Linked DNA regions of Homo sapiens: region 1 is linked to region 2. The links are contacts of gene promoters, found by promoter capture Hi-C in blood cells and fetal thymus (Javierre and others, 2016). All regions are on one chromosome and are shown on one strand. Each heading gives the region's core, a stretch centred on a gene start or on the middle of the fragment in contact. The rest is flanking DNA. Distances are from core to core; before and after follow the strand shown.

Region 1 (4,844 bases), core at 164-2,663, 270 kb after region 2:
TTTGCCTTCAAATAACCCGCTAGGTGCTAAAGGGTTGGGCAATGGTGGCAGCTGGGTTGTGGAAGCTGACCCAGCGGTCGCCCCCCAACCCCACTGCCCCTAACAGATGCCCCTCACATTTCCCTCAGTACCCACAGCCCCCAACTGCCCTGGAAAACCCTCCTGGGCCTCAACGCCCTTTCTGAGCGGGAGGGCTCTCCCATCCCCTAACAAGATCATGTCCACACGCCCACCCAAACAGCTCCACATTCCTCCACACTCGTCCTCCACCCCCAGGTCCCTTTACCCCCTTGAAGCCCCCACCCTGCCTTTCAAAGTTGCTCTCATCTTCGTCTTCAATTCGGATCCCGGCCTGTCCCAGGAGAGAGGCCTGGGGGCGGGGGTCTCAGCCACCCACCTCTGCACCCCCGCCAGGCCCCGAGCGCCCCGGCTCCGCACCCCACACTTACCTGTGCGGTCTTCCGCTAGGGCGCGGGCAACGGCGGGCGGCCGGGCGCTGGGTGCGCGCGGGGGCCGACTGCCAGGCCCCGGACCCTCGGCCCAGGCTGGGGCTCCGCCGCCGCAGCCAGCCGCATCCTAGTCGCTCAACCCGCAGCAACCCCCAGCAACCCCCGAGCGTCCCGCCGAGCTGGGGGAGAGGCCCGGATGCGCTCGCCCCCACCCCGCCCCCGCCCCCGCCCCCGGCTTTGTTCGGCCTCCAGGGCCCCAGGAGCGCGCGGATCTGGCACTCCGGGCGCGGCAGACGCCAGTTTCCTGAGAAGCTCCCACTCCGTCCGGGCCGCGCAGGGCTGCGGGAACCCCGGGCTCGTCTGGCACCGAGCTGAACTCGGGCTTTGAGAGCGGGCCAAGTTGCCAGGCGAGAGGAGCGGCAACTGACAGGGGCACGGCGAGGCGTAGGGAGCGCCGGGGGCGCCATGGCGGAAGGCGGGCACACCGGCGACTCTTCAATGTCACCAGCGAAATGGGTTCCATATGTCCGACCCGGCAGAGAAGGGAGGGGAAGGGAGAGAGTTCTGGGCAGGACAGGAGTGGGGACAGGGAGGGCGGCAATGGAGGGAACAGAGCAATGGCGAGGGGGCAATAGGAAGGATCAGACGGGCGAGAAAGATTTGCATCTCCCCTTTTCCCTCGAGTTTTCTAAAGCTGCTTAGGCTGGTAGGAACTTGCTTTCTCTTTTTCCTTTTCTTGTTCTTTCCTGTAAGATGGGGGAGGAAGGAGATTAGTAGGGGAAGCATCCGCTTGTTAAGGCTGGGAGTTTGAGGGAGGAGATGTGGAATGGAGGTGAAAGTTCTTAGGCGGCTGGAAGATCAACAACTTCCCCAGGTCCCTAGAGAAAAAAAGAGACCAAACCCACAAGGGGGAAGAAAAGCCAAGAAAGGATTCCAGGGTCCAGGTGTGAAAGTCCCAACTCCCCCCACCCCCATGATGAAATTCTGTTTGGGGAGGTCCCAATGATTAAGTTACTGATGCTGGTGATTGTGGTGGAGGCTGAAGTGTCCTGGACATCTTGGCCATTCCCTGGCACTTCAGCTCCTGCCACAGCTGCCTCACACCTGATTTAGCACCCCCAAGGGCCTACTCTAGAGGCAGTTGTTTCTGAGATGGCCTGGGCTTTGGGCAGCTTCCTGTAAAGAAGGCTGCTAGGGAGCAGGGAGCCTGGAGGGGCTTCCCTCTGTGCCTGCTCCCCAAAGGGTTTGGGCTTTTTTTCTGTGTTGGGTCTCTCTGTCTTTTCTAACCATCTCTGTTGTCTCCGTTCCTTTCTCACAGCCCCTTTGTCTTTTTCCAATTCTGCGTCTCTCAGTGTCTTCAGTGAATTTGAATTGAGCCTTGCAAAGGATTTAGGAGTGTCTCCAGAAATCACTTCTGGGCTCACCCATTAGGTTGAGTCTCTTCTTCCCTTTCCTCTGTGGGGGAACCCACCCTCTATCCAGAGAAATTCTCTTCTAGAGAGAAGGGGACAAAAGGGGTAGTTTCCTTCCCACTGCCCTTGTTCTCACTTAACTCTGTGTGTGTGTCCCCTTGTGAATTGTGGGGCTCCTTCCTCCAGGACAGCCTCCCTTCCCCTCTGACTGGCCTTTGTTTCCACTCTCCCTGTCATCACCTCCTTGGGCTCAGCCTTGACTTCCCATCCCAGAAAGGGATCCTGCTGCTTGTTCTCTCTCTGGGTCCCTCTCTTCCTCATCTCACTCTTCATCTTTCTATCCAATTCCTCTGGTCACTAAAGCGTTAGCAGCCTGCCTCCTTAAAGGCACAGAGATAAACACTGCAATTATATAGAGAGGATACCAGCAGAGAGTTAGGGGAGAAGACAGAGTCAGCAGCTTTCTTAGAGCTCTGTCTACCAGATGCATTCTATCCCAACCCCTGAACAACACAAAAGCAAATCAGTGGGGTGGAGGGTGCAGGACTGGTAAGAGACAGGGTGCTTCATAGCTAAATGAAGCAAATGTATATATAAACAACAAAGTCCTTTCAAACTTGCTGATTTGGGGTAGGCCTAGATGCCTGGATGGAAGGCATTAGGCATCACATGGGGGATTTACCAGATAATGGTGGCAAGGGATGGTCCCCTTGCTTTGTCTCCTGGGGAAGAGTCTGTGCGTGTTGGGGAAAGGGAAGGGGAGGGGGTATCAGTGTCACCTCCTCTCCTCTGGGCCAGAGGAGACAAAGACCTGAAGAGGGCTGAAAGAATAAAGAGGAAAAGCTGGTGGAGTGGGGGTGGGGGTGGTTGGTCAGACTTCCACGTCACAGGCAAAGGTAGCAGCAGGAGGGGAGATGGAAAAGGGTTGGGGAGGAGGAGTTGCAAACGCAGGGGGAAGGGGCCTGTGGGACTGGCTCTCCATGCTAGCTATGGGCTGGCCCAAAGAGCAGATCCTTTTCTTTCCCATCTTTCAAAGCATGCTGAATTCAGAAGCTAATACAAATGATTCTACCCTCTTCCTTCTCTGTCATGTCCCTCCTCCTCCCCATGGAAGAAGTGATCCTTCCCTGCTCTCTCAAAAACTCCAAGACTTTGCCCTAACTCTGGACCACCGGTTTGAGGGAGAACGCACCCTCTTCACAGTCATACCCCCCAACACTTTCCAGATGAGGGAGAAGTAGAACTGCTTGCCTCTCACACTGAATGTGTGTGGGATTCTCCAACACTCAAGGAGTGGGTGGGGAATGAGACTGAAAGGTTTGGAGCCCCTATGCCCCAGGTCTCTTTGCTGCCTCTGCCAGCCCTTCCCACCTCCTCACAATCTCCAGTGCTGTCAAAGCTGCCCCTGTATCCAGACTTTTCCCTAGTTCTTTTTATCCAGGTCAGACAGTGCCTCTACCCATCCCAGCCTTGGGTCCTGGCCTTCTCTTTCTCCCCAAACCCTTTTCAACTGAGACTCCTGAATTGGGAGGCTTCACCCACTACCCACTGAGAATCCCTTGTTAACATGGATGAGACTCAGTGTTCACTTGGAGCAGAGTGTGGGAGCGAGCTCCTGGATGCTGCAGGGACTGGGGCCTAAGCTGCCACTCCACGTAGTGGATGCCATGAATAATTAACACCTGGGCGCGGCGTTGCTCTAACTTCCCTGCTCAAAGGTTTACACTAGCAGGCAGAGTTAAATATCACAGATAATCGTGGCTATAAAGTCAGTTGGCCTGGCTCCAGTCAGGGAATGAGGGGCCAACAGCTGGGACTGGAGTTGGTGAAGGCTCTGGCCCTCTGCACCTCATCCATCACAACTTTGGGGCACAGTGCAGAACATTCCCCAAAGCCACCTCTGGCTTTGCTCTTGACCAGCAGCCTCTCCCCTAGTAGGAAGGAACTGTGACCTCCACATGAAACTATAGGAGAAAGTTAACAGCTCTTCCCCTCCCTCTCCAATCTGCACCCCGTTTGCTCCCTTTTTGGATGGGGACTTAGTTAAAAGAACACACCCAACATCCTCCAACACTCCCAACTTTCTGGGACCACCTGATTCCTAGAACATTTCTTTTCTAGAAAAACTTCGGAGAACTTCTCCCCACTTTAGCCCCAAACACAGAGTCCCTCACTGCTGAGGAAACTTTTCTTTGTTTCAGCAGGTCAAAGGAAGGCTCCTGGGGTGTGAATTCATTTCCTTGTTTTGTTAGCCAGGAGGGTGGGGAGCCAAAGCTTTCAGCTTCTCTCCCTGCCCTTCACCCTCTGCTTGCCTCCATTGTCTCCCCCAATTTGGGTGATTCCTTTTCCACCTTTGACCACCCCCCAGACACATCAGTCCTATAAATTAAGCTTTAATAATGTAACGGAACCCCTCCCATCCCTTTCCAATTGCACAGAACTTTGATTTGGTCTCCATTGATCACAAAAATATTTGCCTTCAACTCCAGTAATTTCTTTCTCCACTTCCACCTCTCTTACTCTAAGGCTCCTTCTGCCTTCAGAGTTGGGTTTGTTCATCCAGGGCTGGAGTTGGAGAAGCCAAACTCCTGGAGGGGAGCTGCTAAAAAATGGAGCTCTGTCTGCTGCTGCAGGAATGTTGGCTCTATCAGGCTCACAAATATAATTTTTATATTAGACCATGGTCATTGACTGGGTTTATATGCCAATGAGGCATTTCTGGTTTACCAAATTTATGAAAATCTCGCTTTAATTGATAATCACAGATGCTGTAATTTAAGACCTCCAGCTATAGAGCTTTCATATTAACTGCTGATATATTACTGTAAATCGTCTGAAATAACCAACTCCTGGGAGCAGAGCAGAGAGGGAGGAAGTGCCTCCGAGAGCGACTCTCTCCCGGCCGGCCGCAGAAACAGCCCAGCTTCCACATCATTTTCCGTGAAAAATGATTTATCGAAGACATGGCCATAAACAACACAAC
Region 2 (4,931 bases), core at 1,867-4,366:
GAAAATAGTAATTACTAAAGCCCACTTCACTGAAAATTTGAGAGTTAATTTTTAAAATTTCTGAATTTTGGGGCCACTGGTGCTGGAAAAAAAAATTACTCTCTCTGTTCTCTTTCTTGTAAAAAATTCAGTGCTAACCCACACAAATCCAGACAGCTGCCTCATCTATTCTGCTTCATCTATTCTCTTGCTGAGGACATTCTATATTCTTAGGTTCCTATTGAACAACAGCACCATTCTGAAAAATTTGCGTACTGGCAATCAAATCATTCTGCAAACAGTAACGCAGATTCCAATGATAAGATGAGTGAGCAGGATGCAAGAACATCTTAAAGATCACCTGCCACACTTGTGTTTGAGGTGCTCAATGGCTGTTTACACCAAGTGCCATCTGGCTCTATAGATATAATAACAATTATTCCATTGAGGTGTGTAGCTCCCTAAATCATATTAATATACAATGATTCCGCTAGTCTTATAGGAGTTGATGTCTTTGTGCGCTCTCATTTAACCTGGGTAATGCGCTAAAACAAGTCTGCCTCATCATTAAGAATTGATTTTTTATTTATGTGAATGTCACTGGCAATCCCATGATATCCCTTTGTAATTCAGTTGAACAGGACTGCATACTAGCGTTAATCTATTTTTATGGCATATCTTTAAAAATTTGCAACATCTTGCTACATTTGGATATTTATATAGAGATTTGTGTTCCTGCAGAAAGCTGTTGTTAGCTTTGGAGATCCACTTCATATAGCAATAGGGCAAGTATCTAATATACTTCATTAGCTATCTTATATCAGATAAGGGTTTATTTCTTTAAATTATTTAACCTTGGTATAACCTACTAAAATCACATAAATCACAAATACACTAATGAAAATCATTAGTTTAGCCTATTCAAAAAAAAAAAAAAGAAAGAAAGAAAGAAAAGAAAAAAGAAAACTTCCAACAGGGATAAAATTAAAACATTTTAAAATCAGCCCTCTGGAAGCATTTCATGAAAGTAACTTGGTGAATTTGTCATGATCACTCATTTCTTAATGTTGTCATTGGTCAATCGTTTAGTCATTGATGTTAACAACTATTCTGATGTGCTAACATTTGTAAAAAAAACCAAAAAAACAAAAACACATCGCTTTTTTTCTGGCTGATTCAAAATCTGATTTTAAAAGTCATAGTTACAACTATTTATAAATATGCCTTCATGAGTTTTGCTAATTTAAAATGAGATAAACACAATAAGCAACAATAAAAAGAAAAAATACATATTTTAAGATACCAAGAAAAAATACTACATCACAAAATTATACTTTAAATCTAGTCTTCCCAACAGTATTTACAAGATTATTAAATAATTACCTTATGGGGAAGTTCTGTCAGAACACCTCTCATATTTGGATGAGTATTATAGACTTTGAACCTGTTCATAAAGCAATAGCAAGCTTCTTCAGAAAGTCACTGAATTTTGGGCATGGGGAGATATGGTAAGTTATACTGCAGGTCTTGACCATTTCATGCTGCTGCTTTAAAGGCAGAATTACTCTTATGCTGTTGAATTTATCATACACAATTACTGATACTGCAACTCATAAGGAAGTTAAGCAAAGTTTCAGAACAAATAAATGAGGTAACAATTTTTCAAATCTAAAGGATTTTGAAGAGGATTGTCACTGCAAACTATAAACTACTGTAAGATTCTTGGTCTAGAACAATCTCTTGTGGATTATTTAGACAATTTTTAAAAAAGCACACTGGGGCAAGTTCATTTTTCTAACTTGAAAATATACGTCGTAAAACTTAATTAAAGGCTCAAACTTAAGAAAGACACATTCATAAAAAATCTACATTTGAGTTAGATTGTGAAATCTATGTAGTTTTCAATATAATATATTAATATCTGTAATCCTTAAGCTGTAATTTTTACAAATATGTTTTCCAAGAGCTGCATAAATTAACTTCTTTATGTATTGTATATGTTATAAATAACTAGAAGGAATTACGTACTTTTATATTCAATAAATAAATACATTTAAAGCTCAGATACTTTCACTAAAATAGATCCACAAAGAAGCTTGGAATGTTCTTCTGTGGTCTTCAGAACTATGTGTGGTGAGCAATTATCAGGAATAATACATGTGTCTGTTTTTGAATTCAGTAAGCCTTCTAAACATTATTTTAAAACTACTCCACAGAGATGATAAAAGGTGTATTAATCACCTAAATGCCTATAAATTGAGATTTAAGGTCAGAGATATTCCCTTAGTTTACTTAAGATATTCCTTGGATATCCCTTAGATATTTCCCTAGTTGTCCCACACGGGCTTGCTTGATCACACATCATATCCTGGTACATACGAGGTTCTGAGTTAGCACTGTGGAATTGGTGTACAAGGCTTACAAGTCAGCTTTTAAAACGTAATAATGATAGCATCTATAATACTATTCTAGTGATTCTATGCTTTTCTTTTTGTTAAAATCATCCCTTATTTTAGGAATAAGCTAAGTAAAGAGGGAACATGGAGTCAGACTGAAATCTACTTCAGGGCTCACCTTTGTCGGATGAACAGTGAACGCTCTGACATTGACATTCACAGCAGCATTGCTGCCGGGTATTGCTATAATTTGCTCTCTATGATTGTTCCTTTAAACAAAAAGCTCTGCGCTCAGCATGCAAAGAAGTTAGAAGTGCGGGAAGGAGGGGGAACCACACATATAAGAGGAGAGAGAGGAAAAAACTGCAGATCAATCATTTATAATTAACAAAAATCCGATTGGTGCTTTAAATAGAGATCAATGTGTTCCAGGCTGCCTGGATTGTGGGGATGTATTCACCTTCTGGTAACTCTCCAAGCAAGCTGTCACACCTACAGAATCACCATTTGTTTTCTTAACAAAGCTTCAGGGGGCGCCAGGCTCTCATTGAAATTTCATTAATCTAATGGAGTAAAGTCCTATAGAAAAAAATCAAATTCTCGTTGGACGAGATGCTACCTGGGAAAGATAACCTCTGTTTGAACTCTCAGACTCGGATCTCTCTGCTATTAGTCTGAGGAAACAGACAGCAACAACGCTGATTACAGCCACCGGCCTCAACAATTTTTTTTTCTAACTAGCAATTTCGAGTGCAAGTGCCACAGTGTCAGCTAAAGAAACACAACTGCGGGTTTTCTGCAGAGCAAAATGGTTCTGAAATGTCACTGAATAGCTCACAAAGGACGCCAATCTACGACAACAGAGACATAAGCATATAGGAGAAAGGGTCCACACATCCTCCTTTCAAAGGTATGTTGTTTACATGCATGTAATTTGTGAAACCCACAGCTATTCAATTCAGGGTTTTCGCAGAAGTCTAAACCAAAATCTGTGTAGAAAGCAATTATCAAGATTCCTCCAAAAGTCACAGAAATTTGGGTGTGGGGAAATTATGACATGTTATACACATAAATAGATGCCCTACATAGTACATGACCTATATAGTATAGTCTTCAAGTTCCCAAGACATCAATTATGGCTGTTACGTGGTGATGATACTTCAGCATCACCTCCATGTGATTTGACTCACAAGTTTTCAAAAGTGGCCTAAATCTGGACATGTCAATATATAGTAGCAACAGTTACTTTGAGAGGAAAATATGGAATGTTGATTCCTTAAAGTTCTTTCCAGGAATGTCCCCATGGCTCATCTGACACATGGTAAGGGTATATGATGGTACACCTATGTGACAAAAAGAGCCAGCATGACAAAGGCTGCATCTATGCCAAAGTAAAATAGCTTTTGGTACTGCTTATTTTTTCCCAACTTAAATGGCTATTTGTAAAAATTTAAATGACTAACAGACCAGTAGTTTTAGGCACAAAAGTCTAAAACAGAGAATGAAACAACCTGTAGAAAGCCCTCTGCTAGACTCTTATATGATCACTATGTTTTGCACGAAGCAACTGGGCAAAGGAAGTTGACTTCAATCGGGCAAGATCACAGTCAAGTTCAGCACTGCTTTCTGATTCCATAGACGTCTAAATCTGGAAGTGACAGTGCAAACCTTACTTGTGTTAAGGAAGAAGACTTATTGTACTTTAAACTAAAAAGAGAAACTAGTAATTTGAACATAAACTACAACTTGTATTTCCTTTCTTTTTAAAGCAGGGACCTAAAAATTGTAGCATATGATAAGGAGAAAAAAGTCATACTTTGAAAAAAGAAAAGGAAGGTCATGACATCCTAGGCAAGCAATTGAAAGGATTCAAAAAATTCTGAGTCCATCTTTAAAGATACTTTTTTTCTTTTACAATAAGCTTGCCGTTTTTCACCTAGGTCACAGAAAGCTTGCTGCAGATCAGGAAATGTCTTCAGTTTCCAAAGCCTCTCATAGCAGTGAGTCACTTCCTCTTTTTTTTTTTTTTCCATTTTCGCTGTTTATGGGTAAACATTGCTCTATTTGGATATATTTAATATTTTTGTGTCTGGCACAAATTTATCCATAAGGATCTAGCTTCTTTTCATACGTAATTCCTTTAATTTCCTGTCTGAGATCCACCTGTAGAATTATACTTCCGGTCTCCATCTACATCCTGTTTAAAGATATCACCGAGAGTGATATACCAATTTTTTAAAATTCTAAGCATTAGGAAAATGAGTACATAACACATTTATGTGTCTATGTGTATATACTATTTATGTAAACATATAATATATGCAAAACATATATGCATATACACATACGATATATGCAAATCTGTATATAGAAAAACTTAGTTTACTCAAGATTATTAAAATTGATCCTGGGAACAAAACAATACACCTTTTCTAGGCATTTATCCCTACTATAGAGACAGAGAAAGAAAGATTGTGAGAGGGAGACACACACATTCAGATGAGCCTTCAGGGAATTGTATGAACTTTTGAACCAGAGATGGAGAGCCAGAGCCCA

The links. Contacts are between HindIII fragments. The CHiCAGO score rates a contact against its expected background, and 5 or more counts as called.
Region 1: a contact is called between a fragment that was not itself captured here and the fragment with the promoter of SKAP1-AS2 in region 2, in 1 of 17 cell types (total B cells). The highest score is 5.1, in total B cells.

What each region holds. Positions count from the first base shown.
Region 1 is chr17:48,563,765-48,568,608 of GRCh38, forward strand. The region is part of intron 2 of HOXB3 (homeobox B3); the gene reads right to left. Among named protein-coding and RNA genes, the nearest start is that of HOXB-AS2, 10 kb to the left of the region's middle. RefSeq lists an enhancer at 589-1,393. The HindIII fragment of the contact is 5,439 bases long and covers 1-4,133 here.
Region 2 is chr17:48,291,231-48,296,161 of GRCh38, forward strand. SKAP1-AS2 (SKAP1 antisense RNA 2) reads left to right here and starts at 3,117. Exons shown (of 2, transcript NR_131240.1): 1 at 3,117-3,285. The region is part of intron 4 of SKAP1 (src kinase associated phosphoprotein 1); the gene reads right to left. The HindIII fragment of the contact is 1,397 bases long and covers 2,898-4,294 here.